Regions from separate parts of the Homo sapiens genome. Here region 1 is linked to region 2. Evidence: promoter capture Hi-C in human tissues and cell types (Jung and others, 2019). All regions are on one chromosome and are shown on one strand. Each heading gives the region's core, a stretch centred on a gene start or on the middle of the fragment in contact. The rest is flanking DNA. Distances are from core to core; before and after follow the strand shown.

The links. The method cuts DNA at HindIII sites, captures the fragments that hold promoters and counts their contacts. A contact is called where the count stands out against the background at its distance.
Region 1: a fragment that was not itself captured here is called in contact with the fragment with the promoter of PODXL in region 2 in 1 of the 25 tissues and cell types used here (dorsolateral prefrontal cortex).

Annotation. Positions count from the first base shown.
Region 1 is chr7:130,977,262-130,980,513 of GRCh38, forward strand. It overlaps LINC-PINT (long intergenic non-protein coding RNA, p53 induced transcript), which reads right to left. Exons shown (of 8, transcript NR_170176.1): 5 at 1,247-1,267. Among named protein-coding and RNA genes, the nearest start is that of LINC00513, 65 kb to the left of the region's middle. The HindIII fragment of the contact is 3,455 bases long and covers 157-3,252 here.
Region 2 is chr7:131,555,368-131,558,596 of GRCh38, forward strand. PODXL (podocalyxin like) reads right to left here and starts at 1,261. Exons shown (of 9, transcript NM_001018111.3): 1 at 893-1,261. The coding sequence starts at 992. RefSeq lists silencers at 882-1,391, 1,472-1,531, 1,562-1,681 and an enhancer at 1,649-2,196. The HindIII fragment of the contact is 6,040 bases long and covers 1-3,069 here.

The DNA.
Region 1 (3,252 bases), core at 634-3,133, 580 kb before region 2:
CAAGTAGCTGGGATTACAAGCGTGCCCCACCACGCCTGGCTAATTTTTGTATTTTAGTAGAGATGTTGTTTCACCACGTTGGCCAGGCTGGTCTTGAACTCCTGACCTCAAGTGATCCACCCGCCTTTGCCTCCCAAAGTTCCGGGATTACAGGCGTGAGCCACCACGCCCGGCAGAATAGACATTTTTTAAAAAGCATACAAATGGCCATCGGGTATATGAAAAGGTGCTCAACATCACTAATCTTAAGAGAAATGCAAATCAAAATCTTAACATGTCACCTCACACCTTTTAGGATGCCTATTAGAAAAACAAAAACAAAAGATAAATAGTGGTGGGATATGGAGAAATTGGAACCCTTTTACACAATTGGTGAGAATGTAAAATGCAGCTGTTACAGAAAACAGCATGGAGGTTCTTCCAGAAATAAAAAATTGCTACCATATGATCCAGCAATTCCACTTCTATATATATTTTTTCCCAATCATTGGTGTTGGCATACCTGAAATACTGATATGGGCGTATCATGTTGATTATACACATTTCAAATGGGAATACTACTTTTTTTTTTTTTTTTTTGAGACACTCTGCCGCCCAGGCTGGAGTGCAGTGGTGCAGTCTCAGCTCATTGCAACCTCTGCCTCCTAGGTTCATGCGATTCTCCTGCCTCAGTCTCCTGAGCTGGGATTACAGGCGCAGGCCAGTATACCTGGCTAATTTTTGTATTTTTAGTAAAGACAGGGTGTCACCATGTTGGCCAGGCTGATCTTGAACTCCTGACCTCAGGTGATCCACCCGCCTCAGCCTCCCAAAGTGGTGGGATTACAGTTTGAGCCACCACACCTGGCCCTACTTTGGTTTTTTTAAAATTACACTATTCTATCGCTGAGGACTAAACAAGGCGCTGTAAATTGCAAGTGTTTTCTTAAAACCTTTTAGCATAAAAAATATTAATGTTTCAAACTTAGAAAAACCTGAGTTATTTTTAATACTACTATAACCTAGTTGTATTTTCCGGGTAATGCCATCCCTGCTAATCAACCACCTAAAACCAAAAGCTTTTTAAAGCTGTAAATATTGCTGACATATTATTTGCAGCCAATTAGCACAATATTCTAATGAGATTATCATCATTGATTCCCAACAGGGGTAGGTAATGGTGTTCATTCATACACTAATATAATTTTGTCTTTCTTACAGCATGCACATTCTATAAAACTGGAATGATAGTACCTGTAGTACTTACCCTTATGTTTTTCAGCCAACGCTTGGCATATGGAAAATAATCGCAAAATGTTATTAACATGATTGTTTTCTTTGCCATGTTAAGTTACACCACAAAAACATAAAATAGATCAACATTCCTTAACTATAAGAAACACAACTAAAAGAATTTACTGAGTGTGCTGTCTTTTCTTTGCATGTGGCAACAATAGTAGCTACTCTGCATGTATTGGTACTTATTTCACAGCAACACAGGAACACTTTGACTTTGACATTGTTAAGCACTGAAGTTCAAAACTAGCAACCATACACACTTACTATTTAACATCTTGTGTTTTTTCCTTTATTCATAGGTTTAAAAGAAGTGCTTAGCTACCTGATGGTGACCTCTTACACTTTTCATGATCGACCTGGTTGTCTTGAAAAAAGAAATAATAGTTTCTATTTTCGCTTCCATTTCCCTCTCAGAAAATGAATAAAGAAAAATGGCCAGAAAAAAATGGGAAAAATATAAAATATTTTTTTAAATACATGTTTTTCTTCTTGTTTGGGGTTACTCAACTCAAAAACAGTATTTTATGTCCCCAAATACTGTTTAAATTTCTACCATAATTTATCCCCTTGAATCATCAATAGTCTTTTTCTCAAGCCTACCATTCTCTGAAGCCACTACAATCTTGTCCTGTGACACTTAGCTTTAGCTTTTGAAATGGAACAGAGAAGAGACAAAAGCTTATGAATTGAAGCCACAGCAGGGGCAAGGATTTAGCCTCCTTTTCTGTACATTCTCAAAGCTGTTGGCTGTAGGGACTAAAATACACATTCTGGGGCTTTTCTACTGGATTCCAGTCATGTACCATGTACTAGGAGTAAATAAGGACAACAGGAAATCAGGAAACAGGCTGGAATTCACTCTTAGAATTTCTTCCAAATGACAACCACCAAAATCTAGTTAAAGACTCATTTTATGATTTCTTAACTTTTTTTAAATTGGGGATTCCAATGAAGTGGCTTTGAAGTATTTATCTGAAATCTCTTTAATACCACTTCCCAAGCACCGGACTCTGCCTATGCTGAGATAATACTTTGACTTGATCAACCAAGAACGAAATGGGGGGAAAAATACCCATTGCTAACCCAAGTTTTAGTGTAGCTTATAAAATTACTTGGAAGAAATAATCAGAGAGGCAAGAGAACAAGTAGTAGAGTGTTTCAAAAGGCGAAAGGAAAGAGAATGAACTCAGTTCAATGGCAAATGCAAGATCAACGTTGGAGCAGTTTCAGGACACTGGTGATGTTGAGCTACATAGCACGTTGCTACCTTGGGAAAGGCAGAAAGAGTACGTCTTTGTGGCTCTTATACAGCAGCTGCTTATTTAGTTTTTCCGAGACAGGATTTTTAATTAGCTGTCTATGGTTATTCTCTTTTTTGTTTTTCCTCAATTTATAGAGGGCTCTAGATCACCTACTAGTCTAACCCCTTGGTCATTTTCCTAGGACTGGCTTTCAGCTGCTTCGAAATGATGTGACTGCCAGGAAAGTACTACTGCATCGCCTCGGGCCTTTCTAGACCCTTTTCTAGGAAGAGATGATGCACTAATTGTTTCCTAACCCAAATGCTATAAATGCACAAGACCATAGAATACTGGACTGGTTGGCCAGGTGTAGTGGTTCACGCCTGTAATCTTAGCACTTTGGAAGCTGAGGTGGGCGGATCACGAGGTCAGGAGTTCGAGACCAGCCTGGCCAAGATGGTGAAACCCCGTCTCTACTAAAAATACAAAAAATTAACTGGGTGTGGTGGCGGGCACCTGTAATGCCAGCTACTCGGGAGGCTGAGGCAGGAGAATTGCTTGAACCCGGGAAGTGAAGATTGCAGTGAGCCAAGATTGCACCATTGCACTCCAGCCCAGGTGACAGTGCGAGACTCCATCTCAAAAAAAAAAAAAAAAAATACTGGACTGGTTTAATTATCCTTCAAAGTAAATGGTGAGTCAAAGAAGAATGAATGTATTTGAGGAACAGATG
Region 2 (3,229 bases), core at 11-2,510:
GAGTTTGCAGCCATCGCCTGTCCCCCAAAAGGGAAAGAGTAACATTTCACCTTGAAAAGAAACAGGGAGGGGATGTTTCTGAGGTGCAGGTGTTTCATGAGAGACAGGTACATTTTCTAAGGTGTGTCTAAAATGCAGCCCAATCCTATTCTACGAGAGAGAAGTTCCCGTTTGAACAAGTTCCCGTTTGAACAAGAGGATTCGAGGGGGGTCTCACCATCGTAGCCACGCACTAAGAAGCGATTGTTTTAGGGACACGGAGGTAGGACCCCCACTCAGCCAGGTGACTCTGGGACTGTGGAAGGTCCACTTACGACTCTGTACCTGCCCCAGCACGGGCTCAAGGAGTTGAGCCTGCACACATTACTTAGAAAAAACCTCTGCAAACGGGTAAGTACATCGCCCGCGTGGGCCGTGGCTGGAGGCTTGTCACCTGCTTCAGGGACTTCCTCGGGAGCCTCTCGCCTGCCTCTTTGCCTGGAATTAACGAATACACACTACAGCCCCTCATTCCCTCCAACACGAAGGAAAGGTGTAATCAGATCCCGAGAGTCCCGCAGAAGCGTGGAGCCTCGCGGTGCGGTCTCCCTTTTCTTTCCCATGCAAACCCACTTAGCACCGGCGCGCCCCTGTTTGCCCGGGCAGAATCCACCGCCCACTCCTCCCGAGTGGAGAGTGGAGACGAATCTACGCCCAGGCCCTGCACCTGCCGCGCTGCGGAGTTTGGAGGGGGCGTGGATGGTGCAAGGTCAGGGCTCCGTGTGTGACCCCGGCGGTGATAGGGCTGCTCGGGGTCGGACCACGCGGCGCGCCGGGCTTCCCTGCAGCTCGGCCGGGCAGGGGGCACATGGGCACGGTGGGAGTCCCGGCGGAACCCAGGCCGGCCACTCACCATTCTGGGAGGGCGACGGCGACGGCGACGGCGACGACGGCAGCAGCGGCGGCGTTGACAACAGTAGCAGCAGCGCCGAGAGCGCCAGCGCGCAGCGCATCGTGTCGTCGCCTCTGGGCCGGGAGCAGGTGGCTGCGGTGCCGGCGGAGGATCCGCGCGTCCGGGCGGTAGGAGCGTGGGCGCCGCCCGGGGAGGCCTGTGGGTGGCTCCGGAGGCCAGGCTGTGGCCCGGGGCTCCCGAGTCGCGCTGCGGCGGCTCTTCCTCCCTGCCGCTGCAGCAGAGCCGGGCTGGGGCGCAGAGCCAGTGGCAGAGGAGCGGCGGCGGCGGCGGCTGCGTCCTGGGCGGCGTCTGCGCGGCTGCGGCCCCACTGGCGGCTGCGGCTACTCCTGGCCCGTCCCGTCAGCGCCGGCCCCCGCCCCCGCCCCCGCCCCTCCCCCTCCCCCAGGAGCCCGCCAGCGGCGGCGGCCGGGCCGGGCGGGGCCGGGGCCGGGGCTGGGCGGGCGCTGGGCCGTGAACAATGAGCAGAGGAGGAAACTCCGCCCTGGAGCGCGACGGGCGGGAGGGCCGGCGGCCTCCGCGCCTTGGGGGGCTGTGTGTGCGCGGGGGCCAGGGCGGGGGGCTCCTGCGGTGCAGCCGGGCCCCGTCCACAGGTGTCCCGAACAGGTGTGTCCCCCCGAGTGCTTCTAAGTGGGCCCGGCGGGATCCCCCAGCACACCGCCGGGGCCCTCGCACTACGAGCAAATCCGGAGCGGGCGGACCCCCAGCCTTGCGTGGTAACTGATAACCATTCACGGCCTCCCGGGCTGCTGCGCGTTCTGCAGCGACCCCGGAGAAGCTCATCTCCCACCTGCCAAGTGCAATTCACCTGCCTGTGGGGCCCCCATCCCGCACGGCTTCTGAGCGGGGTCTCTCTGCAGCTAGGTGTGCAGCGGGCAAGCTGGACTAATTCACTCCTTCACCTCTCCAAGGGTAGGTTCCTTACCTGTGAAATGGAGATGATGGTTAAAAAACAACAGCAACAACAATTTCAGGGATGAATGTGTGCCAGGCTTTACATATATTAATTCTTTTACTCTTCATGACAACCATATTTTTAGCCTCATTTTGCAGACAGGGCAATTGAGTCAAAAAGAGGTTAAGAAACTTCCTGAGGCCACATAACGGGTAAGTGGCAAACCTGCCTCTGAGAGAAGTTTGGAGAAATACCGTGCACCGTGCCTGGAATATAGTAATTGCTCTGCAAGGAGTGGTTATTACTCTTATTCCTGCTATATAAAGAACAGCTATAAAGATTAGGGCTTTTGGGTCAAAACAGGCTGGGGCTCAAAACCTAACTGTGCCAATCTATTAATTGTAAAACCCTAGGCAAGCTATTCTCAGTACCTCATTTCTTTTTATCTGTAAAATAGGGATAATAACACCTACCTCAGGGGGTTGTTGGGAAACTTAAATGTGATCTTACAAGATAATACTTAGCCTAGGGCCAGGAACACAAAAGTCTCAATGAATGAAGTAGTTCGCCCTCCAAGTGAGGATCAGAGATATTTGCACACTGGGGGTGGGAGTGGGTGTTGGAGAATTCCGTAAACTGAGTTTATCCGGTGAAAGAACAAAGAAGTTCCTTTCCCCTCCCCCGCTCCCCTCCTTTTTTCCACCCCCAAAGCTGCCTGGGAGACGCAGACCCCAGGCCCGCCTGAAGAGGAGGCACATCGGCGGAGCCGGGAAGCGGAGGGGGCGAGGGGTGATTAACCTTGGAACCCGGGTACGGCGTAAATTTGGCTCACGTGACTCCGGGGTTGCTAATCTGGAGTCTATCTGCCAGATGGGGCTGGGTGGAGGGGTTTTCTCCAGGATCTAGCCGCGTCCCGGGCACAGGGGACTCCGTGAGCCCCTCAAGTCGGCTGCAAGCAGGCGATGCCTGCAGGGCACTGCGTCCCTGGAGCCGCGAAGGAAGCGCTGGAGCCCTGGCTGGGGTTCCGTGGCAGCCGGCCTCAAGCTTGGGAAGGGCTGACGGGGTTGTTTTCATCAGGAAGTTTCTGCAGGATCGTTCTGGCCCCGTTTTCCACACCGCATATGGGAAAGACAGAGGGTGTTCCCTATGAATACTCTGGGATATTTGTGTGTGTGACTATCTTTGATGTTTTTTTAGTACTGTTCCCCTGATATCATGTCAACAAAAGGCTTGTTTCTCTTCTGAAACCAAGCAATATATATATATATTTTTTTTTACACTGGGATTTTAAAAAATGTGTATCGCACTCTGATTTAAACAGTGTTTTTGCACTCAATCATTCAATTTATCTAAAAACTCAGAAGCAATCATGTTAACTTTATAAA